3 separate regions of the Homo sapiens genome follow, and regions 1 and 2 are each linked to region 3. The links are contacts of gene promoters, found by promoter capture Hi-C in blood cells and fetal thymus (Javierre and others, 2016). All regions are on one chromosome and are shown on one strand. Each heading gives the region's core, a stretch centred on a gene start or on the middle of the fragment in contact. The rest is flanking DNA. Distances are from core to core; before and after follow the strand shown. Region 1 has its middle 5.2 kb from the start of CRISP2. Region 2 overlaps CRISP3 (cysteine rich secretory protein 3). Region 3 holds the start of RHAG (Rh associated glycoprotein).

Region 1 (3,766 bases), core at 894-3,393, 82 kb before region 3:
CAGAATTTTGGGAGGCTGAGGCAGGTGGATCATGATGTCAGGAGGATCATGACGTCAGGAGATCAAGACCATTCTGGCTAACACGATGAAACCCCATCTCTAATAAAAATACAAAAAATCAGCTGGCCATAGTGGCATGTGCTTGTACTCCCTCTACTCAGGAGGCTGAGGCAGGAGAATTGCTTGAACCCGGGAGATGGAGGTTCTAGTGAGCCGAGATCGCACCACTGTACCCCCCTCTGGGTGACAGAGAGAGACTCCATCTCAAAAAAAAAAACAAAAAAACAAAAAGCCTGGGCACATGTTAAATTAGCCATGTGCCCTATCTATGTAAACAAGGTTATAAAGAAAAGAGATTTTATATAAGAAAATATCTTGTATGGTAAATTCTTGTCTAAAGTAAAATAACTGGTTGTTTAAAAAGAGGGATGTTTAGGACAAGTCAGAAAGCCCAAGCACTTCGTAGATGGTCTGGTTAAGTCATGAAAGAATTTATAAAATAGAATTTATGAAAGAAATGTGCAATTTAAAGGTGGCTAGTCCTCTTAAATGCTTCATAAAATGCCACTATGACTCTTAACTGTACAACTTGCCTACTTTACAGCTAGGTAAAGCCTGAGACATGTGGAGTTAGACATTGGAAAAAGTCAGACCTTATCTGCACTTCTATCTGGATCCTAGGCTCTACATTTAGTAAACAATTAAAATCCTAACTTACCAAGGTTTTCACCATAAGTAAACGTTGATAAGAGTTAACATTATAACATGTAATTGAGACTACTGAAGAAAAAGTTTTACATGAAAGGTGTACAAAGAAAGTAAAATGTGTTTTCAGTTTAAAATAAATTATAAGAAGTCATGGGAATGTGACTTGTTTTTTGCCTAAAGGGTAAAGGATTGTTTGAGTTCAGATGAAGCTGAAGCTTTAAGCAAGTTGTGAAAGGTTTGTGAAAAATTAATTGTAAAAGAAATTCTGGGTGTGAACATATTGACTAAAGTTAAAGCAGTATTATTTCAGTTTTTCTAAAAATTAAACATTGGAATAAAAGCACAACAGGTTTTTCTGAGAGCACTGATCTACCATTTAACAAAAATTTATAAAGAGTTATAAAAGATTTAAGAGAATATTACCTTATGGTCAGACATTAAAATTGGATAGATTTGTCTATAAGGTTTTATTAAAAATTGGATTTAACATTAATAGTACACTAATGCAGAAGTGAAATTTGGTTTATTTGATATAAAAGTCATACAGGAAGCATTGTCAAATATGAAATGGTGTTTGGCCTTCTTTGGGCTGTATTTGTATTAGTATATTACTGGTATGTGTTCCAAAATTATAAAAATCTCCTATAATTTTGATATGACTTAGTGTATATTATTAATAATTGTTACATAAAATCATTGTATACCACAAAGGTAACCTAATTTCTTTGTCAATCATGTTTTTGACTGTGGCTGCCCTAAAACATTTTGTCATCCACAGACAATTATTGCCTTGTTTTAACCCTCTTAAAAAGGTGGTTTTATGATCAACTATAGGACTTTCACAGGTGCTAAATGCAGGTTTCCTGATATCTTTGGAAATTGTGACATTAGAATAGAGGAAAACACTTTCAGGATTCTGATGAAGAGCTGAAATATTTATGACTATTTTTCAGAACAGGAGTTAACTGCATGGACTAAACTAAAAAAATAATCTTTTTGACTGTGCTTAAAATGTTGCTAATCCTTTGTTTTGTTTTTCAGGGTCTAGAAAATTTTATTTTAAGCTATTTACAGCTTTTAACAATTAGGTAAAGTATTCTTCTATAAACAAAATCAGGAGCACATTTGTTTCTCTCTACTGATTTATCCAGAATTTGAAAATGGTTTGTGGGTATTCTTAATTTATGGCAATGTAGTTATTTGCATAAGTGCAATAAGAATCGGTTTTCTTTTGCAACAGGACACAATTGGAGAAATTGTTTATTTTATCAAAGCTTTGACTGGAAGGCTGTGCTTTCCTTTAAGGAATCAAACTTGACTAGTAAAGCCAATAAAGGCCCCTTCAGAAAACTGGCCTCATACCTTGTCTACACAGTCCCTCTACAGGGTTCTTCACCTTTGGTAAGTAAAGAATGTCACTTTCTGACAGACCTAAAAGCCCCAAATTGTCCTGAAACCTCAAGAGTAGAGGAATTTAGCCAACTGTTAGGTATTTGAGGGTAAAAAACCCATGGCTGGGCTTGGCTTTAAAAAAACCTTATCTGAGATTCCTTTTATGAAACAGAGTTCCATCAAAGCCAATTTTTAAAAAGCTTACATGAAAAATAATTATTCTTGCTATACTTTATACAAAGAATCCAGCCAAGCATAGTAAAGCAAGTCAGTTTTACCATTATTTGTCCTTTGTAAAAATGGGAAACTGGAGAGAGAATTATGTTTCAAGAACTATGGTGTACTTGCTCTTAGATTCTAGTCTCATCAGTTGTTTTGAGTTTTTTTCTGCAATTTAGACTAACCCTGCTTATTCCTGTGAACCAACCAGCAATCTCTGGCTGCTGCTCAGAAGAAAATAAAGGAATGGGTAATGTAAAAATATGAATCAATATTCCAATTCTGGGCACACTGGAATCAGCTAGTGACCCCATATCAGCTTGGTTTCAATAGTTGCCCAATTCATGGAAAGCCTTCTAATTTAGTTAACTTAGGACAATTTTGCTTATTCTGCTTTACTGTTTTAAAATATCTTGCTGTTGTGCTCTTTGTGTAGGAATAGAGGATAAACTTACTCAACTTTTTAAAAAAATCTTCCAGATATCACCTTTTCTTGGAACTTAAGAGTTATGAATGGCCTTCATCATACTAATGCATTCTGACTGAACTCCTCTGTACCCTGAACACAAGAGACCCTAATAGTTACACAGAAATATCATTGCCCCATTCAGCCTGAAGAAGTTAAAGAAGATGAATCTTCATCCTTCTGCAACTGTTAGGATTAAGGGTTCTTTTATAAAAGGGAGAGGAGAAATGTCAGAGGAATGTGAACCGGAGCAACTCCATCTTAAATAGGGGCTGGGTAAAATGAGGCTGAGACCTACTGGGCTGCATTCCCAGACAGTTAAGGCATTCTAAGTAAAAGGATAAGATAGGAGTTTGGCACAAAATACAGGTCATAAAGACCTTTCTTGTAAAACAGTTTGCAGTAAACAAGTCAGCTAAAACCTACCAAAACCAAGATGGCAACAAGAGTGACTGCTGGTCGTCCTCACTGCTACACTTCCACAAGGGTTGTGACAGTTTACAAATGCCATGGCAATGTCACGAAGTTACCCTATATGGTCTACAAAGGGGAGACATGAAAAATCCACCCTTTGTTTCGTATATAATCAGAATAACCATAAAAATTGGCAACCAGCAGCCCTTGGGGCTGCTCTGCCTATGGAGTAGCCATTCTTTCCTCTAACAATTTGACCTTTTGACTTGGGGTTTTATATGTTGGCATACTTCCAGGGTCTTGCATTACTCTTCCCTTGGATTAGGCCATCTGCATGTGCAGTAGCCTGCTAGCACTTGGGAGCAGCCTCATGCACAGTGTGTTTAATGGAGTTGTACACATGCTCACTTGAGAAATTTTTTCTGTACCAATACAGTGTTTCTAGAAGAAGTGTTTCCCCTTGATTTAGTTCTAGAAAGTCCTTTCGTTCTCTGCCTCTAGGCCCTATTCTCCTGCCTCAATTTCCCCCTGAAAGATGTGATCTCCATAAGTCTTTATGGGAGGTGG
Region 2 (3,416 bases), core at 801-3,300, 100 kb before region 3:
CACTAGTAGTTTGAAATCTTCTGGAGCTCCAGATCTGCATTCTGGCAACATCATTTTTCGTGGATTCTTTTTTTTTTTCAGACTTCAAGTGTATTTATTAATGCATTGGACAAAATAAAACCACACTTGTTATCAAAAGTATATCTCCCCTGCTCCCATTTTCTTGTTCTTCCATTGGAAATATCTTTGAAAAAGTGATACAAATGGATACCAGCAAAGTCCCATATTTGCGGGGTGATTGTGGGGCGATGCTGGGACGAGATGGTTTGTGACATTGACTTTAATAGCATGAAAATGGGTTTTGCAAGTGTATATCAGGCTGCATCCCAATACTTAGATTCACAGTGGGCGGGGTGGTGGGGTGCAGAGGTGCTGGTTAGGAGAAGGAAAGCTGAATTTAGTGCTGGGAACCAGTCTGGGGTGGAAAGCTCTTCCTCTGGGAGTTCTGTGGGGATTTGGTGTTAGCTAAGTTCATAGTCTAAGGGAGACCCAGTCCCAGCCCCCAGAGCTGAGGTTCAGGAGGAACCAGTGAATAACTAAGAAGGAAGAGCTTTTGTAGGATGAGTCACTACTTCTATTAACGTTCAGTCCAAATCAGAAGGCTAAGGATCTACCATATACTATTTGTTCTGCTTTCTTGTTTTTAAACTTAACACTGAAGCATAAGCTTCTTCTCTGAGGTTACAAAACAACCATAAATGTATAGTGGTTTTTATGTCTAATATACTGCCATAAGAGGATGTATTCTCATTTACTTAGACATTATATCTCCCTATTGCTAGGCATGTAATTAATTTACAATGTTTTAACCCTTATAAATGATAACATGATGAAAATTTTATGCTTAAAACTTTTTAGTATAGTTTATAATTTCAGTAGAATTCTAAGAAGTTGAATTAGTGAGATAAAGAATGTGAACATATTAAGGATATTAATACAGATAGGGTGAGTAATCCCTTAAACATGAGAATCAAATTATTACCTTTTTGTTTTAAGATCCAGAGGAAAAAAATGTTGCCTTTTTAAATTTGAGGCATGGTATTAAAGAAAGTTTTGAGAGGAAAGGAGTTAGGATGCTGGCTGCATGGGTAAACTTGAAGAGAGTAGTTTAAAGGTATGCATAAAAAGCATATACGTAGAGGACTTTCTAGGGTTTGAAGAATGGCAAGTATATGAGCCAGATCCCTGACGGAAAAGAACTGGCACATGCTAACTTTTAATTTGAAGAAATGTTAATAAGGTTATATTTATAAAAGTGTAGACAGCACTTAAGGAAATCAGCAAGGGCTAATGCAGTAGTATCCCAGTAATAAACACAGTTGGAAGCTACTGAATTGTTATTGTGAAGAATCCACTCCTACAACCTAAAGACAGTAGTTACACAGAGAAGACTGCGGAGCTGCGGAAGAAGGAGGTAGAAAGTCCTTAGCATTTATAGGCATGCTTCAAGGGCTTCAGTCGGGAATTTTGGTTTGTTCTTTATAGTCCCAGTTGAATGCATACTTTGAAAGCTGAATCCACTGTCATTCTGCTGGCTCCATGTGACAAGTCTTCTCCTGTTACATTAATAATGAATTTGGGATAATGGAGGTCATTACGTTTCTCCCACCCCCATGTTACTCAACAGCATGTACCAATCATTTTAATGCAGATCCCTGTTCCACCGGTTTTGTTTTCCCAGCAATGACATTATTCCCAGTGCTGTTGTTCCTGGTTGCTGGGCTGCTTCCATCTTTTCCAGCAAATGAAGATAAGGTATGGTTGAAGTCAAAAATCTTCAGAAAAATTCAGGCAACCATGAGGGATGGCAAGCTACTAGATCAATCTTCAAAAGTGAAAAGGTCTAGAGTGTCTGGTACATCATAAAGTACTCATTAGTAGCTCAAGGTAGTTAACATAATTATGTTTAAAGCTGTGGTGATCAATATGGTAGCCCCTAGCCACATGAGGGTATTGAAGTTCATTAATTAAATGACTTTGCTCCACCCCGCAAATTGCCTTGGAGATTTTTTTTAATGTGGTAAAACTATCTTTTGAGTGATCCCATAATATTTGCTACGTAATACATAAAACTCTTTTACTAGAGTATTGCATGTTACACATGCACTTAGGCTGAGCCTAAGCATTTTTTCTAAATACCAGACACCATTTCAGGCAGAAATTCCCCCTAGAGTCTTAGGGTAAATCATATGCCTCAATCTTTACAACTTCTTTGCTGCAGCCTGAGTGTGAATGTCTTAATAATTACTATCATGTACCCTTGTCACTATAAGATGTTATCACTCATATATTTAGAAAAATCACATTAAGACCTCTCTTAACCCAGAAATTGGTATTTGTGGCCTCAGAGGAGATTTTAGTTTGTCATGCCATGAATTATATCCCCATTCTGAAAACTTTCATCTAATACTTTTCCATTAAAAAGTCATAGCTTTGGCAGTCATTGACAATGTTTACCTAGCATTGGCAACACTTTTTAAAAATGGTCTTTGTTCCCTTGAACTAACATAGTTACTATTATGTGCAATTTCCAACAATGTTAAAAGATAATTGTAATTTTATTTTCCCTTAGGATCCCGCTTTTACTGCTTTGTTAACCACCCAAACACAAGTGCAAAGGGAGATTGTGAATAAGCACAATGAACTGAGGAGAGCAGTATCTCCCCCTGCCAGAAACATGCTGAAGATGGTAAGAGGTGATATTGCAAAGGAGAGGGGTGTGAACAAGCTGTGGAAGGAGTAGGCGGCTGGCAACTAATATCTCTTAATAACTTTGAAGTTTACAAAGTTCTCTCTGTATTTTTTTGTTTCATTTGAGCTGTGTAATGGGCAGAGCTGAATTTCTTAACTTCTCTTTATAATGGTTGCATAACGTCAAATTCATAGGGCTATTTAAATTATGGAGGCAGAATTAAAACCTAATCTTTGGACATACGGTGAAAAGCCATTATGTTTTTCTGCTCCTTATCTTATCTGTCCTAATCTGAGATCAGAAAGACCTTTTCCTTTTAAGATAAATGCCATGTAGGGTAAATAACAATCTACTTTTCTGGGCCCTGTACCAAAGGCCACATGTCTCCCGAACATATTCAGTGAGGGGGAAAAAAAGAAAAAAAGAACTGGAAATGAAGTAAGCCAGCTAATTACTTCATTGTTGGAAAAGCAATCTCAGCACCTCCACATGTTTATCAATATTTAGAACAGGACCATTACAAAAAATCTTTAGGTGTTTCTGATGTCCTGTGATAAATAATTGGACCATAAACCTAGATTTTTTGATTACTTAGGGTAGGCATATTACCTATATTTCTTTGTGGAGCAGATAAAAGCACATAAAAAATATATACATTTGATTACTATAAAAATCAGAAGATGCTTGTACAGAAATTTTATGATGATGTAAATCAACCTATAAC
Region 3 (3,529 bases), core at 706-3,205:
AAGGCTTTTCTGAGGAAGTATCATTTTATCTGAAAACTGAAGAATGATGGATGATGTATATAGGACAGGGAGCAGAGAATATGTGGGAAGATTTCCAGTTACAAAGAGAAGCTTATGTGAAGAACTGAACAAGAGAAATAATTTCCCAGATGGTAGACAATGCAGCTTATTTCAATACAAATGTCTACATTCAGAATAAGGCAAAAAATCTGAATTCCTCGAAGTTGAACAGGCTGAAGTCAAGTGCTGGCATAGTCCCATCACCTATATGAGTAAAATCCTCTACTCCCCATGTGTTGAGTGGTTGCTGAGCTGCTGGAAATGTCCCAGAGAAAGAGAGATGCCATCGGTCTTGGATTGTTTAATATACTGTGTCACTTTTTATTAAAGAGTTTAAAACCGCATTGGTTTATGATATTGTTTAGATGTTCTTGCAATTTATTATTTGATACTTGGTTTTCACAAGTTTATGCATAGTTTATTAACATATACACTTTTCATTTAGGATTTGTTGGAGTTCTCATGAACACTCTTTAGGCTGCTGCAAAACCAAAAATTAAAGTGTGAGATGTACACATGTATTTTCATAGCTAAGCATGTGAACCCACTCCTCTTGTACTATGCTGTAACGAATAATGGAAATAGTCATTTTTCAAAGTGTCTGTATATTTATAAAATTTCAAATATCACTTAGTCCTAACATATCATGTTCTACTGTGGAAAATCATACCAGAAAGACCAAAAAATCCTGCTGCTTTGTTTTATAAATATTTATTACAATGTATGTATCCTGGCAGTCAGTTGCACTCTCTCTCCAAATTCTGCATAGAATCTTTTGGAAATTGGGCTTCATGAAAGAAATTGTATTTAACTGGTAGCTCTTAGTTCTCAAAAACAGGTTTATTCTGCCATGAGAACAATTCCAAAGAGGAGACAAGAATTCCTCCACCTATATGGTAGTTTTGAATTGCTTAGCATCTTATTTACACTTGACTATCTATAAGGATGATAGATTAGTTATGTTCCTGTTTAAGTTTACTCTCTTCCTATTTAAGACTAAAAGATATATCACAACTCATTTGTGTATTTCCATATTTTCACTTGCGTAAATCAGAGTAAGGAGTCAAAAACTTCATAAGTACATAAAACTGCTTACAGTCCTATATATTCCCCATTGCTCATGGGATAATATTTAGCATCTAGCATCCTCGGTACTGAATGTGAGGGTCTTTACAACACAGCCACCTCCATGACAACATTATCTCTGCCACTTCCTCCTTTTCTCTTCATCTCTTTTACATTCCAGCTTTGCTTGACTGATTGCCGTTTCCAAAACATGCCATGTTCTTCCAAGATTTATATCATTCCCTCTTATCTGTTTTACTTGAAAAACCCTATTTATGTTCTAGTTCTCACATCCATATTGTTTTATATGCTAATGTTCTTGGCCTAAGGCAAAAAGTTTCACTGCCTTATTTATGTTTTATAATACTTTTATAACCACTATTATATCACATATTTGTTTTTATATAATCATTCACTTATATTTATGTTTTCCCAACTAGATTCTTAATTTTCTCAAGAAGTTAACAGACCAATTATATATATTGCTTTAGATTCATGCCTTCTACAAAGCCTACCACAATATTTGGTATACAATAAGCCCTCAAGAAATGTCTACTGAATTAAGTTAAACATGATTCTAGAGGCCTGTGCAATAGATTGTTGGCATCATCCAGGTTCTCACAATTTCATTGCATATTCTTCAGATCAACATTTAGAACGACAATTAGATTACAGAGCATAATTTTCCCCAATGGGTGGGGCATTTTAATCAGTCTTGCCCATTTTTTTTTTCTTGTGATGTCATTGGGGTGCCTTGAACATGCAGTCAAATTCCACACACAGAGCAGTCCTTTGTTCTTATCAACATCTCACAGCCTGTGAAGCTCTCAGTGTGCCTCTGTCCTTTGCCACAAACATGAGGTTCACATTCCCTCTCATGGCTATAGTCCTGGAAATTGCCATGATTGTTTTATTTGGATTATTTGTTGAGTATGAAACGGACCAGACTGTTCTCGAGCAGCTCAACATCACCAAGCCAACAGACATGGGCATATTCTTTGAGTTATATCCTCGTGAGTAGGCAATTTACTACTTACTATACATTTTTCGGTTCTTCGGTTTCTCAGAATGTAAAACAATTGAATACTATAAACCCTTGAGCTCTTTGTAGAATTATATGATGGTTATGAGTGCTAAGGATATTACATGTTTGTGATGTGACATCTGGTCTTCTTCTCTGTGATTAAGGTGCTTGGTTGGAACTTTTTCCTATTAAAATATCAGAACAAGAAGCTGAAAATTAAAATAATTGATGCCTTTTGTATTGCTTATCTACTGCTAAATGACCTTTTTCCTTCAGTTGGTCACTAGTTCTGCAAAGAAAAGTATCACGCTTCCTTTGCATTCCCCACTGAAAGGGCCAAAGGTAACTTTGGAGGAGAGAGAGTTCTAAGAATGGAGTTATAAGAAGGGAACCCTAGATTTCATGTGAGGACCCTAAGGAATAAGAAGGGGTATTTAGTATGATGTAGGAAGTTAATGGAGTTTTAATCAAAAAAGTGTACTCAGAGTTTTACAATATTCTGAAAGGAAGTCGGTTTGTTACTTTGAGATGAAAAGAAATGTGTGAATACTTAACATATTTTAAAAACAAAATCCTTCCTTGGGAATGATGATTGAGCAAAGAGAGAAATTTAATTCAAGTTTGGAAGGGTAGGCTGTAAAATAGTTAATATAACAATAACTACCATTTACTGCGTCCTTATTATAAACCAACACATCCATTACCTCATTAGCCAGGAAGGAAGACAGTAGTATGTCACTATTATATAGACTATTTGCTTTTCTTAAGTAAGGTTCAAATAATCTAAAAAATTTAAAAATTATTTAAAATGGTATAATGTTTATTATACTTCATAGCATATGTCTAAGCTTTTTAAAAAACAATTTGACACCCTTTTTTTTATTCCAACATTTTTTGAGGGAATTAATATGATGGGGGTATTCCCATGTAGAAATAATGGCCTAGAGTTGCTAAGTGACATAGGAAAAATATAAAATTGAAAGCTAAGGACAGAGTTAGGGTAATAAGACAGAGAAAACTAGACTCCAAGTCTAGCTGTCTTTACACTGCATAGATGTCTGAGAGGGTTCTTGATTAAATAAGTTTTATAGTTTGCAAGTTAGAGAATAAAACAGAAAAAATTCTGTTCATCTATGTATGCTTTTGTACATTTCATTCATTCATCCATTTATTCATTTAGTACATATTTTATTAAGCACTAAGCATGTGCTACAGCAAATTTATTAAAAAATAAAACAAATATGATTCTTTTATTCTAAGACTCCACTATCTGATACACTTGTAAACAAAGAGATGCAATACAATGTTAAAAATGCCAAAAATATGATCTAAGATTAATATGATTTAAATAAAGTTATCTTAAGACTTTAAGAGCTTAAT

Evidence for each region. Contacts are between HindIII fragments. The CHiCAGO score rates a contact against its expected background, and 5 or more counts as called.
Region 1: a fragment that was not itself captured here is called in contact with the fragment with the promoter of RHAG in region 3 in 1 of 17 cell types (erythroblasts); the score reaches 5.5 in erythroblasts.
Region 2: a contact is called between a fragment that was not itself captured here and the fragment with the promoter of RHAG in region 3, in 2 of 17 cell types (erythroblasts and megakaryocytes). The highest score is 33.4, in erythroblasts.

Annotation. Positions count from the first base shown.
Region 1 is chr6:49,716,862-49,720,627 of GRCh38, reverse strand. No RefSeq gene overlaps it. Among named protein-coding and RNA genes, the nearest start is that of CRISP2, 5.2 kb to the right of the region's middle. RefSeq lists a silencer at 366-566. The HindIII fragment of the contact is 318 bases long and covers 1,985-2,302 here.
Region 2 is chr6:49,735,664-49,739,079 of GRCh38, reverse strand. It overlaps CRISP3 (cysteine rich secretory protein 3), which reads left to right. Exons shown (of 8, transcript NM_006061.4): 2 at 1,682-1,755; 3 at 2,573-2,689. Among named protein-coding and RNA genes, the nearest start is that of CRISP3, 7.0 kb to the left of the region's middle. The HindIII fragment of the contact is 2,761 bases long and covers 670-3,416 here.
Region 3 is chr6:49,635,265-49,638,793 of GRCh38, reverse strand. RHAG (Rh associated glycoprotein) reads left to right here and starts at 1,955. Exons shown (of 10, transcript NM_000324.3): 1 at 1,955-2,138. The coding sequence starts at 1,982. The HindIII fragment of the contact is 2,886 bases long and covers 114-2,999 here.